Linked DNA regions of Homo sapiens: regions 1, 3, 4 and 5 are each linked to region 2. Evidence: promoter capture Hi-C in 16 types of primary human blood cells and fetal thymus (Javierre and others, 2016). All regions are on one chromosome and are shown on one strand. Each heading gives the region's core, a stretch centred on a gene start or on the middle of the fragment in contact. The rest is flanking DNA. Distances are from core to core; before and after follow the strand shown. Region 1 overlaps EMC3 (ER membrane protein complex subunit 3). Region 2 holds the start of RAD18 (RAD18 E3 ubiquitin protein ligase). Region 3 holds the start of BRK1 (BRICK1 subunit of SCAR/WAVE actin nucleating complex). Region 4 overlaps ATP2B2 (ATPase plasma membrane Ca2+ transporting 2). Region 5 has its middle 27 kb from the start of LINC00606.

Evidence for each region. Contacts are between HindIII fragments. The CHiCAGO score rates a contact against its expected background, and 5 or more counts as called.
Region 1: a fragment that was not itself captured here is called in contact with the fragment with the promoter of RAD18 in region 2 in 1 of 17 cell types (neutrophils); the score reaches 5.2 in neutrophils.
Region 3: the fragment with the promoter of BRK1 here is called in contact with the fragment with the promoter of RAD18 in region 2 in 1 of 17 cell types (neutrophils); the score reaches 9.8 in neutrophils.
Region 4: a fragment that was not itself captured here is called in contact with the fragment with the promoter of RAD18 in region 2 in 4 of 17 cell types (total B cells, total CD8 T cells, neutrophils and 1 more); the score reaches 7.7 in total B cells.
Region 5: a fragment that was not itself captured here is called in contact with the fragment with the promoter of RAD18 in region 2 in 1 of 17 cell types (total B cells); the score reaches 8.2 in total B cells.

The regions. Positions count from the first base shown.
Region 1 is chr3:9,965,582-9,968,281 of GRCh38, reverse strand. All of the region lies in intron 7 of EMC3 (ER membrane protein complex subunit 3), which reads left to right. Among named protein-coding and RNA genes, the nearest start is that of PRRT3, 15 kb to the right of the region's middle. The HindIII fragment of the contact is 3,103 bases long and covers 1-2,700 here.
Region 2 is chr3:8,961,985-8,964,734 of GRCh38, reverse strand. It overlaps RAD18 (RAD18 E3 ubiquitin protein ligase), which reads left to right and starts at 1,263. Exons shown (of 13, transcript NM_020165.4): 1 at 1,263-1,400. The coding sequence starts at 1,350. RefSeq lists an enhancer at 1,246-1,415. The HindIII fragment of the contact is 5,728 bases long and covers 1-1,723 here.
Region 3 is chr3:10,114,307-10,117,006 of GRCh38, reverse strand. BRK1 (BRICK1 subunit of SCAR/WAVE actin nucleating complex) reads right to left here and starts at 1,332. Exons shown (of 3, transcript NM_018462.5): 1 at 1,188-1,332. The coding sequence starts at 1,305. RefSeq lists enhancers at 735-784, 1,235-1,524. The HindIII fragment of the contact is 6,229 bases long and covers 1-2,700 here.
Region 4 is chr3:10,327,171-10,329,892 of GRCh38, reverse strand. It overlaps ATP2B2 (ATPase plasma membrane Ca2+ transporting 2), which reads left to right. Exons shown (of 23, transcript NM_001001331.4): 23 at 768-2,722. The coding sequence ends at 1,079. Among named protein-coding and RNA genes, the nearest start is that of MIR378B, 1.7 kb to the left of the region's middle. RefSeq lists an enhancer at 1,061-1,609. The HindIII fragment of the contact is 4,701 bases long and covers 1-2,722 here.
Region 5 is chr3:10,736,099-10,738,798 of GRCh38, reverse strand. No RefSeq gene overlaps it. Among named protein-coding and RNA genes, the nearest start is that of LINC00606, 27 kb to the left of the region's middle. The HindIII fragment of the contact is 7,718 bases long and covers 1-2,700 here.

The DNA of each region.
Region 1 (2,700 bases), core at 16-2,515, 1.0 Mb before region 2:
TTTATAATAGTATCAAAACGAATAAAATATTTAGGAACAAATCTAACAAAAGAAATGGCCGTGGCCGGGCATGGTGGTTAACGCCTGTAATCCTAGCACTTTGGGAGGCTGAGGTGGGCAGATCACAACGTCAAGAGATCAAGACCATCCTGGCCAACGTGGCGAAACGCCATCTCTACTAAAAATACAAAAATTAGCTGTGCATGGTGGTGCCTGCCTGTAGTCCCAGCTACTCGGGAGGCTGAGGCAGGAGAATCACTTGAACCCGGGAGGCAGAGGTTGCAGTGAGTCAAGATCACGCCACTAGACTCCAGCCTGGTGACAGAGCGAGACTTCGTCTCAAAAAAAAAGAAATGGCCTTTTGTTAGATTTAAACCGACATACTGAAAAATTACAAAACATTGCTGAAAGAAATTAAAGACTTAAATAAATGGAAAGACATCCATGTTCATAGATTGGAAGACTTAATATTGTTAAGATGGCAATACTCCAAATTTATCCACAGATTGAACACAATCCCTATAAAAATCTTACTTGCCATTCTTGCAGAAATTGACAAGCTGCTTGTGAAGTTCATGTGGAAATTCAAGGGAATCACAATAGGCAAAAATGTTGGCAAAATTGAATAACTTACACGCCGTGGTTTTAAAGCCTATTACAAAGCTGTAGTAATCAAAACTGCACAGTAATAAAAACTGGCATAAGGAGAGATATAGGTCAATGGAATAAAATGGAGAGTTCAGAAATAAACACATCTATTTATCATCAATTGATTTTCAAAGAGGGTACCAAGACTATTCAGTGGGGAAAGAATAGTCTCCATTCAACGAATGGTGCTGGGAAAAGGATATCTACATGCAAAAGAATGAGGCTGGGCACCTATTTCACACCATGCACAAAAGTTAAGTCCAAATGGTTCAACAGGCATGTTAGTGCAGAAGAAAAAAAAAAATTAGGTTCAAATTAGCCAAATGTGGTGGTGCATGCCTATAGATGGGAGGACCACTTGAGCTGAGGAGTTTGAGGCTGCAATGAGCTGTGATTGTGCCACTGCACACCAGCTTGGGTGACAGAGCGAGACCCTGTCTTGAAAAAAGAAATCAAATGGGTCAAAGTCCCAAATCTTTAATATTGCATGATATTACTCATATAAAATATTTGGAATAGGAAAATTCACAGAGACAAGAAAGTAGGTTAGAGTTTACTGAGGATGGGATGGGGGGCAGTGGGGAGTAATTGCTTACTGTGCACATTTTCTGTTTAAGGGGACATAAAACTTTGGAAATGATAGTAGACATGGGTACACATTGTGAATGTCATTAATGCCACTGAATTTTACATCTGAAATGGTTAAAAGTGGTGTATGTTATGTTACATATATTTTACCACAATAAAAAAATAAAAATTTGGCTGGGCGCAGTGGCTTACACCTTAATCCCAGCACTTTGGGAGGCTGAGACAGGCAGATCATTTGAGGTCAGGAGCTTGAGACCAGCCTGGCCAACATGGTGAAATGCCATCTCCACTAAAAATACAAAAATTAGCTGGGCATAGTGGTGCCTGCCTGTAATCCCAGCTACTCAGGAGGCTGAGGCATGAGAATTGCTTGAACCTGGGAGGCAGAGGTTGCAGTGAGCCGAGATCCACCATTGCAGATGCAGAGGTTGCAGTGAGCCAAGATGGCGCCACTGCACTCCACCCTGGGTGACAGAGTGAGATCACTCTGTCTCAAAAAAATAAACAACTAAAAAACAGTGAGAGGGCTGGGCATGGTGGCTCACGCCTGTAATCCCAGCACTTTGGGAGGCTGAGGTGGGTGGATCACAAGGTCAGAAGTTCAAGATCAGCTTGGTCAACATGGTGAAACCCCATCTCTACTAAAAATACAAAAATTAGCCGGGCGTGGTGGCGGGCGCCTGTAGTCCCAGCTGCTCAGGAGGCTGAGGCAGGAGAATTGCCTAAACCTGGGAGGCGGAGGTTGCAGTGAGCGGAGATTGCGCCACTGCACTCCAGCCTGGGTGCCAGAGCGAGACTCCATCTCAAAAAAAAAAAAAAACAGATACCACTTCATGCCCACTCAGATGGTTATAATTAATAAAAAAAAAGATCAACAATAACAAGTGTCGGTAAGGATGTGGAGAAATTGGAACCCTATTGTTGATGATGGTACAGCCACTTTGGAAAACAGTTTTTCTGCCTTTCCTCAAACAGTTAAAACATAGTTACTATATGATCCAGTAATTTCACTCTTAAGTAAATACTCAAGAGAACTGAAAATGTATGTCCACACAGAAACTTATGTGAGAATGTGTTCAGAGCATGATTCATAATAATCAAAAAGTAGACATAACCCAAATGTCCATCATCTAATGAATGAATAAACAATGGAATATTTTGGAATATAATGTACATTGTATGTACAGTAGAATATATACAATGGAGTGTTATTCAGCTATAAATAAGAGTGGAATACTGAATCATGTTAAACAGGGAAGAACCTTGAAAACATGCTAAGTGAAAGAAAATAACAAAAGGCCACATATGCCCAGAATAAGTGAAAAAAAGATACGGAAGATAACGTAGTAGTTGCCAGAGGTTGTGGGAGGTGAATAATGGGAGCTGTCTACTGTTTGGTATGTGGTTTCTTTTTGTTATGATAAAAGTGTTCTGCAATTAGATAGTGGTGGTGGTTGCACATAT
Region 2 (2,750 bases), core at 14-2,513:
AAAACAATTACTGGTTCACTCAGGCCACGGACCTGGTCTTAAATGCTTTTCCTTTGTCTCTCCAAGACCCCACTTCCTCCACATCCAGAACTATCCGACATTTTCCAGCTCAGCCTGGCATTCATTTGCGTTCATTTGCATGCCGTTCTATGATTGGCTGATACAAAGTGGGGGGCGGGGGTGGACACCGTAAACCTCCATTCCTCATGCATTTAATATAACATGTATGAAAAAAAGTATCTATATTTATATCTCGTTTAAGAAAAAAATTGTTCAATGATACTTGTTAAAGCACAATAAGGAAGACTTAATCAGGACAATTCAAGTAGGTATAGAGACCACTGGAACTGTGTCTTGCAATTGGTGAAAACTGGGCTCAACTCTGAATACAACATGGGCAAATGGAAATTTATAGCCAGGAAGCAGGGTGGGGAGCAGTGCATGAAAAATTACTAAGAGGAAACATCAGAGGTAACAGTAGATTCTTGCTGAAGAGGCCAGGGTGATCAGACATCAACTGGGGGATGGTGGAGGATGAGGAACACATCAGATATCAAGAGTGATCACATATCAAAGGTGGGGATTCTTGGTAACTTGATTTAGCAGGGTTTTTTGCTAAAACTGGATTTTTACAGGAAGTACACAGATTGGCCTAGGAGAAGGTTCAGGAGCCTGACTAAAGTTTGCTCAAGCAAAGAATCTTCGTCAATCTGCATAGGAAATATCTAGAAGGCTATATGCCAAAGTTAATGGTGCTTCTCTCCGAAGAAAAAGAAAAACCGTGCATTAAAATTTTAATATGAATAAAAGCAACAGCTCCCATTTAAAGCCCAGAGGTCCTGTTTGGAATCTGACTCGAAACTCTATCCACTTTTTCGGGCGTAGGCTTCTCTTGTGTAAACTGACAATGATAACATCTACCTCCCAGTGTTGTGATACGGGAGACATAAAGTAATGGATATAAAAACTTCTGTTCAGAGCAAGGACGGATAGTCACTGCGATTAGGGTGGGCGACCCGGAGGGGGGTCATGAGCCTGGACCTTGACAGATCTGGTGAGGTCTGGATTTGGTTTGATTCCTGGCTATCTTTTCTTAATATTCAACTGGCTCTACGCTTTTTAACCATTCACTTTCTTCAAGGTAAGTGCGGCAGAAGCCTGGCGCATGCGCAGTACAAGCCCTTAAGCGGCGCCCCGCCCACATACTACTACAACTTCCGGCAGGCTCCGCGCCCGCCTCTGGCGCGTCGCGGGCTGCTGACGTAATGCGGTAGCGCGGGGAATTTCGAGTGGTGTTGGAGCGCCGGAGGCTAGTGGGTGGCTGACCCCCAGCATCCTCGGGAGCGACCATGGACTCCCTGGCCGAGTCTCGGTGGCCTCCGGGCCTGGCAGTCATGAAGGTGAGTGCTTCGGGGAGTTTGGGAGCTCCCGGGTGTCTGCGGGGGGAGGTCCCTCCCTTTGAGGAGGATGTCCTCGCCTTAAGGAGAAAGGATGAGGCGCGAGCGTCGCACTGGGCCCGGGTATCCGGCTCTGCCCTGCCACTAGCCGACCGCGTGGCTCTGGGTCTCAGTTTACTCCTCTGATAAGTGACAAGGACAAGCCTGGTGAGCTGAGGTTGGCAGTCTTATGGCACCAGCTATTCTGCGATCCAATCCCAACAATAACATGGAGAAAAACAGTTATTCCAAACAATGACATCGACAGCTGTTCTTTACTGAAAGCTTACTTTGTGTCAAGCACTAAACAGTGACACCGGACATGATTTTGGGTGGACACTTTATCAGATAACATGTATGTAATCACGTAGCCAAGCAGGTAGTCTCCTTTACAGGCTCTTTCATTTCTTCTGATTATTCTCAATAAACGTAGTGCTCGTTTGTTCTGACATACTGCCCCAACTCCTCTCTAACACACCTTCACTCTTCTCTAACAATTGCTCATGTCTCTTAAACAGAGATCAGGACTCAGGCTCAGCGCTGATCTTGCATTGCGTCTGATTATTTCACTTAAATAACATTTATTTTTGTGGCCACTTTCTGTTTTGGCAAGGCATACCAGTTTCCATTTACAGTAGTGGTGGGCCCTGGATTTGCTCAAGAGCAGATGCACTTTGCTGTGCTGGATAAAGATCAGTTGCTTGGTGTTTCTTCTTGCTCTGTGATTATTTCCGTTTCTCACAGTGGCTAAGATAGCCTTCTTCTCCCTCAGTTTTGTAGACTTGGGGATTATAATACCTGTCCCACTGACTCATAAATTTGACTTTAGAATTAAGTGAAGGCTAAAGTAAGTAGAAGGCCTTGTTCTTCCTGCTGTCATCAGTGACGTCTAGAGTGCTTGGGGACTTGAGATATCTGCATGATGAGAAGCTGACATTGTGAAATGATCCAGGAAAGCTGTAGTTTTGGAGTTGTGGGCTTGGCACCAGGATGCAGTGGAGAAGAGCACAGATTTGAGTTCCAGTGGTCCTGGGTGAAATCTCCTGTCTGCCTCTTGACTGTATGACCTTCGGTTAGTAACTTAACCTCTCTGAGCCTGAATTTCTTCAACTATAAATTAGAGACAAAAATAACAGTTCATAGGATTGATTAAATAAATTAGTTGATGTATGTGGGCACAGATTCTGCTGTGTATTCACTGTGCTTACTGCAGTGCCTGACACCAAGTGGGTGCTCAAATATTATTTGCTGCTTGATTGAAAGTATCTGGAATGTAGTAAGCATTCAATGAATATATTTTATTATTATTAGCAC
Region 3 (2,700 bases), core at 83-2,582, 1.2 Mb before region 2:
CCTCCCAAAGTGCTGGGATTACAGACATAAGCCATTGAACTCAGCCACGATTATAGTCCTAAACACCCTGTATGAAAATACTTTAATACAAAAATGATGCTCTTCTTTGTCCTGAAGTTGTCATTATTTCATCTTCAAGATTAGAACTTCTTTGAATGTAGGAAGTGGTTCTTATTCTGTGTCTCCCACTATGCCTTAAGAGAGGGCCTCATATGGAGCTCTAGCATCTCTCGCTGATGCTTTCTGACAATCTCTTGCTCTGTCACCTTTGTACTCCTAAGGCCATCAGTCCTTTAGTTAGAGAATCATTCATTTAAAAATCTTTCCAAAGTACACTAGTCCCTATATCCTGTAATTACACAAGAAAGTCTAACCAGTGCCAAGTTCTGTTAAACACTTGGAGAAGAAGGGGTAGGAATCTCGATTGCTTTGCTTGCTGTTCATAAGGAAGAATTTAAGGCTGTCACAAGCAGGCCATGCCTAGGAAAGATTCTGGTAAAGATATCTTTCTGCTGAAGGCACCCGACCTGTGTTAGCTCTGAGGAATGGGCTAGAAGCAGACAGAACACCTACCATAAGCTATATATACTAGCAATACAGAGAGGACTTCCAAGGTCCTACAAGATCCTGGCATCCCTCTGACCTCATCTCCCACCACTCTCACCGCAGCAGACACAGGAAACAGGAAGGAATGGACAAGACGGGAGTGGTTGACAACGGGTCCAACTAAAAGGCACGACGCTAGAGGGTATCGACCAGATCCTGAAGATGGGGAACGGTCAACAGTCTTGAAACAGAGGAGTGACACGGTCCCGGATGCTCACTTTGAGTGCAAAGTGGGGACCGGAATGGATGCAGAGTACAAAGGAGGCAGGGAGACCACTTAGGAGAAGAACCACGGAGCGAGGATGGGGCTGCCTGACGCGTCTAGGAGAAGGACTTGTAGAATGGATCCAGAGGGATGGCAGGAAGCCATGAGCTCAGCGTAGGGCAGGATAACCCTACAGAGACTGTCTACGGGAGCCTGAGGGTCAGGGCGGGAGGGAGAAGGTGGGACCTGAAGGAGGAAGTGAAAACCCGCAACAGCCGAAGGCTGCGGGAGTCCTCTCAAAGCATCTCCCCGGCGCCCCAGCCCAACCACCTCAGCGGCCTCCCTCCTCCCCGCCTCCCCTTGCTGGCCCGCTGACCGAACGAGTTGAGAAAGTCTGCGATTTTCTTGATGCTGCTGGTGATTATCTCAATGTACTCCCGGTTAGCCCAGTCCTGGTGAATCTCCCGCTGCACCGGATCCTCCTGTCCCGCCATGGCCGCCGCCTGAGGAAGAGCGACTGCGCAGGCGCCCCGACCCTACAGGCCTCTAGTGCGCCTGCGCTGCCAGGCCACACCCATCCTCTTGAGCACCCACGAATTCTCGGGCACTATGATAGGCCTGTGCAACGTCACGTCCTCGCCGGCGTTTGCTCTCTACTCCCACGCTATAGAACACAGAAGCCTGGACGCCGGCGGCGAGGTTGTAGTGCACGCGCGTTATGGTCGTTACACGGCGCGTGGGGTCTTGCCGTCTCCCTCAACTGCTCCAGGCTCAGGTTGCGCACTCAGTGTCCGCAGTGAGATGGGCACAGTCGATTAAATCACATTAAATACAAGTCTTTTTTTTTTTTAGACGGAGTCTAAAAAATAATATGGTCATAAATAGCTGGGCACACTGCAAACTGGAACAGTCCCTTTCAGAAGGAAATTTGTGTTTTTGTGTTGTTTTTTGAGACAAGGTTTTTTCTTGTTTTTTGTTTTTTTGAGACGGAGTCTTGCTCTGTCGCCCAGGCTGGAGTGCAGTGGTGTGATCTCGGCTCACTGCAACCTCCGCCTCCCAGGTTCAAGCTATTCTCCTGCCTCAACCTCCCGAGTAGCTGGAATTACAGGCGCACACCACCACGCCCGGCTAATTTTTTTGTATTTTTAGTTGAGATGGTGTTTCACCATGTTGGCCAGACTGGTCTCGAACTCCTGACTTCAGGCAATCCGCCCGCCTCGGCCTCCCAAAGTGCTGGGATTACAGGTGTGAGCCACCTCGCCCAGCCTGAGACAAGGTCTTACTGTCGCCCAGGCTGGAATGCAATGGCATGATCATGGCTCACTGCAGCCTCGAACTCCTGGGCTTGAACTCCTGGGCTCAAGCTATCCTCCAGCCTCAGCCTCTGGTGTAGTTGGGACTACAGGCTCACGTCACCACGCCTGGCTAATTTGTGTATTTTTTGTAGACACGGGGTTTCACCATGTTGGCCAGGCTGGTCTCGAACTGACAGGTGATCTACCCACCTCGGCCTCCCAAAGTGCTGGGATTATACGCATGAGCCACCATGCCCGGCCTATTATGCAGTCATTTAAATGCTAATTATGAACACAAGCAACATGAAAACACATACAATAAATTGAGGGGAAAAACAAAATACCCTCCCTCCCTCCCTTCCTTCCTTCCTTTTCTTACTTTTTTTTTTTAAGACAGAGTTTCTCTGTTAATGCCCAGACTGGAGTGCAATGGCACGATCTTGGCTCACTGTGACCTCTGCCTCCCGGGTTCAAGTGATTCTCCTGCCTCAGCCTCCCAAGTAGCTGGGATTACAGGTGCCCGCTACCACACCTGGCTATTTTTTGTATTTTTTAGTAGAGACGGGGTTTCAGCATGTTGGTCAGGCTGGTCTC
Region 4 (2,722 bases), core at 77-2,576, 1.4 Mb before region 2:
TGTCCAGGCTTCCAAGTGTAGCCGTGTGTCTGTCTGTGTGTGCCATGTGGCTCCCGGCCTCCCCGTGGCATGCAGCCCGCCCCCGAATGTCATCTGTCCGCCAGCTCCCATGTGCTTTCTGGCTGCCTCTGCTCTGCACCTCAGAAAGCCCTGGGTTGGCTTTGGTTTGCTTTGCTGCCTTTGGTTTGATGTTCCCGTTCTGTTTGGCCCTCATGTGTCTCTCTCATCCCAACTCATCCAACCGTCTCTCCTTTCTGTGCCTTTTCTGTTTGTGACACGTAACATGTTCCATGTTGTATGGTTTCTTAACTGTGTGTGGTTTTCCTAAGATGAATTTTTTTAATAGCCTCTCCTCTTTCCTACTTGATTCCCACCTGGTCCTCCTCCCTGTCTGCATGGTTGAACCTCTGCTTTAAAGTGAACAAGGCTCAGTCTCTCACTAGGTGTGGGTGCCCGCAGGAGTCGACTGTGCTTCCTTTAACCACTGTTCCCCATCATCTCTTTGATGGTGCTTGGTGATTCCTCCTGTCCTAACACTAGTTTCTACCAAAACCAAAGAGATTTTTAAAAACCAGCTCAAGGATGCCTATAACCTGAGCCCCCTTTTTCACTCTCCCCCATCCTGTCAATGCTAATAACACCCAGCGACTATGGATTCCAGCCACCTGCTTTGCCCTAACCCTTCTCCCACCCGCCCCTCCTGTGAGCCCCCCGAGCCTGGCTGTGGTCCCTGGGCAGTGCTCCTGACCCCTGTGCTTCCCTTGCAGATCCGCGTCGTGAAGGCGTTCCGTAGCTCTCTCTATGAAGGTTTAGAAAAGCCTGAATCTCGAACCTCCATCCATAACTTCATGGCTCATCCTGAATTCCGGATCGAAGATTCCCAGCCCCACATCCCCCTCATTGATGACACCGACCTGGAAGAAGATGCCGCGCTCAAGCAGAACTCGAGCCCGCCGTCATCCCTCAACAAGAACAACAGCGCCATCGACAGTGGGATCAACCTGACGACCGACACAAGCAAATCAGCTACCTCTTCAAGTCCAGGGAGCCCCATCCACAGCCTGGAGACGTCGCTTTAGCTGAGGACCCTCTCGCCTGCCCGCCCGCCCTCATGGACCCCGCTGCCACCCGCTTTCCGGGCACCCATCCATCCAGGCACCCAACTCACCCAAGCAGCAACGAGCAACAATCGGAAACCAAATACTGGAGAGAAAACCAACGTTTCCACCCACAGACCCTTTCTCTGGCTGCGATGCTGTTTGAACTCTTTTTCACTTCAAGGCAAGGGGCGGGATCTCCACTGGGGGCTTACGGGAGTGAGCGGTTTTCCCAAAACAAGCCCTTCCTGGCTCCCACCCAGACATGGACCAGCCATGCACCCGCCCAGCCACCACGTCCCCCGCATGAATGTACTGTACACTTTCAATCCTCCCCTTGTTTGGTTTTTGGGGGTTGGGGAGGGGTTTTTGTTTGTTTGTTTGTTTTCTTAGGCGGGAACTGCAAACAGACTCTTTTCTGAGACTATTTATCCAATCCACTGGTCTGTGAGTTTTTGAAATGCTTGCACAGCATGGTCTCAGTTGTATAGATTAATTTAATAACTTTTTGAAATTGCAGAGCTTAACTCGCCTAGTAGATTTGCACCAATGGAACCGAAGAACTTCATAGACACTCACAAGGTTATATCCATTTCTTTGTATCTATATCAACGTATACTTTTCCGAGACTGTATACGTCCATATAGATAGGTAGATATATATATATATATATAAATATATATACATGGATATATAAAGTTTCTTTGCCGGCATGTTGCCTTGTTTCCGCTTAAATTGCTCTATTTTAACTTATTTATGTCCTAAAAGAAGAATGTAATTTGTTTACAAACCTGTAGATAACGTCTTTGGCTATTTGTATGGTTTAAGAACACTGGTGGCTGAGATGCTATAAAAACAGCTCGGCCCAACAGACACTTCCCCTGGGTTGCATCCTGGATGTTTTATGATAGCCATGCTCTGATTTTTGCCTGCTATTTCCGTTCAATAATGTCACTACCGTGAGAGGCTCAGGCAGAAGCCAAATGCTACCGAGTTGCCATCCTGAGGGGTTTAACAACATGCTCCGTAGACGAAGGGAGAGGAGGAGAGAAGGCTTCCTGGGTTTGCAACACTAACGGCCATCCGGCCCAAGGATGCCAGGATCTGCAAAGCACTGCTCGAAGACTTTTCTCTCAATGAAACTCGCTTGAGTTTACTAAGAGCATTTCAAAAATAGGTTCTCTTTGGCACTGTCTGTACAGAGATTGAGGTAGTGTTGAAATATTATAAATGGTATTGTGTTGATTTTTTTTTTTATTTAGTAACTTACAGGTTTGTTTCCTTATTAATGGCAGCATCTGAGCTGTTGGCATATTGGATGAGGATCAGTATGGCTTGCTGCTTTTATTTTTATTTTTGAAGAAGAATAGCCTTTTTCTCTGCACTATTTAGATCCGAATGAACCTTATGATGTGTATATTGAGATGTACTCAGTGTGATTTTAAACCAAATTGTCTTCCTGTAGTCACAATATATACTGTAGCCTTTTAACAGCAAGTCTTGCTTTCCCAAACAGAAAGCCATTCTGAAACCCTACAGTATCACAGGTGAGAAAAGGTGGTTATTTTTTCCCCAAGACAACAGCACTAGTAATCCCACTTAATAAGAGCTTATTTAATTGGATG
Region 5 (2,700 bases), core at 115-2,614, 1.8 Mb before region 2:
CTGGGGGCGCTGGCGCTGTCCTCTGTCTGTTGTGCGAGGAGTCCCCAGGAGTTTCACCGGCCTGAGAGGGAAAAGGGGGCCTTCGACCCTCTTCAGAAAGTCCTTTCCTTTCCACGAGTAACACCTTCATCAGGTAACAACGGCGAGAAAACTGCCCAAAAGCACCTTCGGGTTTGTATAATAATTTCAAATTTACAGAAAGCTGCCGCAGTAGTAAAAAGAGCTATTTCCCCCAAGCCATTTTAGCGGGGAAAAAAGTAAGTTACTAACGTGATACTCCACCACCCCCCAAATATTTTGTGGATATTTCTTACAAATGAGGACATTCTCTACCTAACCACAAGCACCAAAATCAGGAAATTTACATCAATGCATTGTAACCACCTAATCCTCAGACTCCAGGCAAGTTTAACCAGCTATCCCGATAATGCCTTTCAGAGCAAGGGATTCGGTCCCGAATCCTGCACGGCATTTAGCTGTCATTTCCCCCTAGCCTCCCTCATTCTGGAACAGCTCCTCAGTCTTCCATAGACTTGCACAACCTTGATGCTTTTGAAGATTTTAGGCTACGTATGTTGCAGGAGGTCCCACAGCTCCAGTTTGGCTGCTGTTTCTTTCTTATTGGGTTCAGGTTGCCTGTTTTCAGTAGGAACATCACAGAAATGATGCTGTGTTCTCATTGCGTCCTAGTGGGTAGCACACAATTTCTCTTTGCCGCATTACTGGTGCAGGAACGTCAATCGCCTTATTAAGGTGGTGTCCGCCATTTTTTCCTTAGTTCTTCTTTTCCCCTTTGTCAGCAATAAGTATTTTCTTGGGGAGGTACCTCGGAATGATGTCATTCATCATCAAAGTTTAGTTGTAGCATTCTTTGGGGATTTTTGCCTGGATGAAGTTGTTACTAACACAGTTGCCAAATGGTGATTTCCTGATTCCATCATTCCTCCTTCTCCTCCTCCTCCTTCTTTTGTTTAGAGTCAGGGTCTCGCTGTGTTGCCCCAGGCTGGAGTGCAGTGGCACAATCATAGCTTACTGCAGCCTCTAACTCCTAGGCAAGTAATCCTCTTGCCTCAGCCTTCCGAAGTAGCTAGGACTACAGGCACATACCACCACAACTGGCTAACTTTTTAAATTTTATTTTTTTGTAGAGAGAGGGTTTCACTTTGTTGCCCAGACTGGTCTTGAACTCCTGTCCTCAAGCAGTCTTCCCACCTCAGCCTCCCAAAGTGCTGGGATAACAGGCATGAGCCACCGTGCCCAGCCTCTGTCATACCTTCTAAATGTATCAGTTGGCAATCTAACTGTAAGGAAAAGATCTCTCCTCTCCCCACTCATCCATCCATCCATTCATTCATTCATTCGTATATGTACTTGGTAAGGATTCGTGGATTCTTGTTTTATTTAATGGGTTATAATCTATTACTGTGACTATTTCTTTTGACATTCAAATTTCCCTGGCTTTGGCCAGTGGGAGCCCCTTCAAGCTGGCCCCTCTGTCACTTTAACATGCCAACGTCCTTCCTTGAACATTTCCTTATTTTCTGGTACGAGATATTCTAGGCTTATTTAGTATTCTTGCACCTGCTTTCGGTGTTTAAAGGAATCATGGGTTTATTATCCTGCAAAGGAGTATTTTGGAAACTCTTTTCCTCTAACCCCCCCAGCCCTAGGAAACCACACTACACAGGAGGTAAGAGATTGGACTTTGTAGTAAGACTGATCTGGGTTCAAATCCCACGTCTTATCAGCAGTGTTTCCTTGGACAAGTCTGAAAGCCTCTCCTCACCTGTAAACCAGGCATTTGTAAAATGCTGCTGCTCCTTTAATATTCCCCCAGCACCACCATGTAGCCAATGGTCTGGGAAATTGCTGGAGGGGATTCCTTGATCTGCCTCAGAGGGTAGGGAAATGAGTGAGTGCCTCTAACTTGATTGAGCTCACCTGTGGTACAACATTACCTGTCTGCATTCCCACCTCATGCCTTCCTACAGGACTCACATTTATTCCCTGTCTTCCAGCTTGTGGAATGGCAGACGTTCATAAGAATGAGATAAATTTGGGTTGGTTCCAAGTCCTTGCTATTGTGAATAGTGCTGCAGTAGTCTGGATTAAGAAAATGTGGCACATATACACCATGGAATACTATGCAGCCATAAAAAAGGATGAGTTCATGTCCTTTGTAGGGACATGGATGAAGCTGGAAACCATCATTCTCAGCAAACTGTCACAAGGACAAAAAAACAAACACCACATGTTCTCACTCATAGGTGGGAATTGAACAATGAGAACACTTGGACACAGGAAGGGGAACATCACACACCGGGGCCTGTTGTGAGGTGGTGGGACGGGGGAGGGATAGCGTTAGGAGATATACCTAATGTAAATGACGAGTTAATGGGTGCAGCACACCAACATGGCACATGTATACATATGTAACAAACCTGCACATTGTGCACATGTACCCTAGAACGTAAAGTTTAAAAAAAAATGAGATAAATTTGGAGTTTTATGAGAGGCACCCCTCACATCTTAGTGCTGCACTGCAATGTGCTGCCCCTCAAGCTCAGCTGAGATAAAATATCTGGCCTGCAGTAAGGCTCAACAATTGATAACCCCTGCTATGCCTCTGCTCTTCAAATGGTCGAGTGAGTTGGGAAATGCTCCATTCCAGAGCATTATTGGAGATTTATCATAATGCAA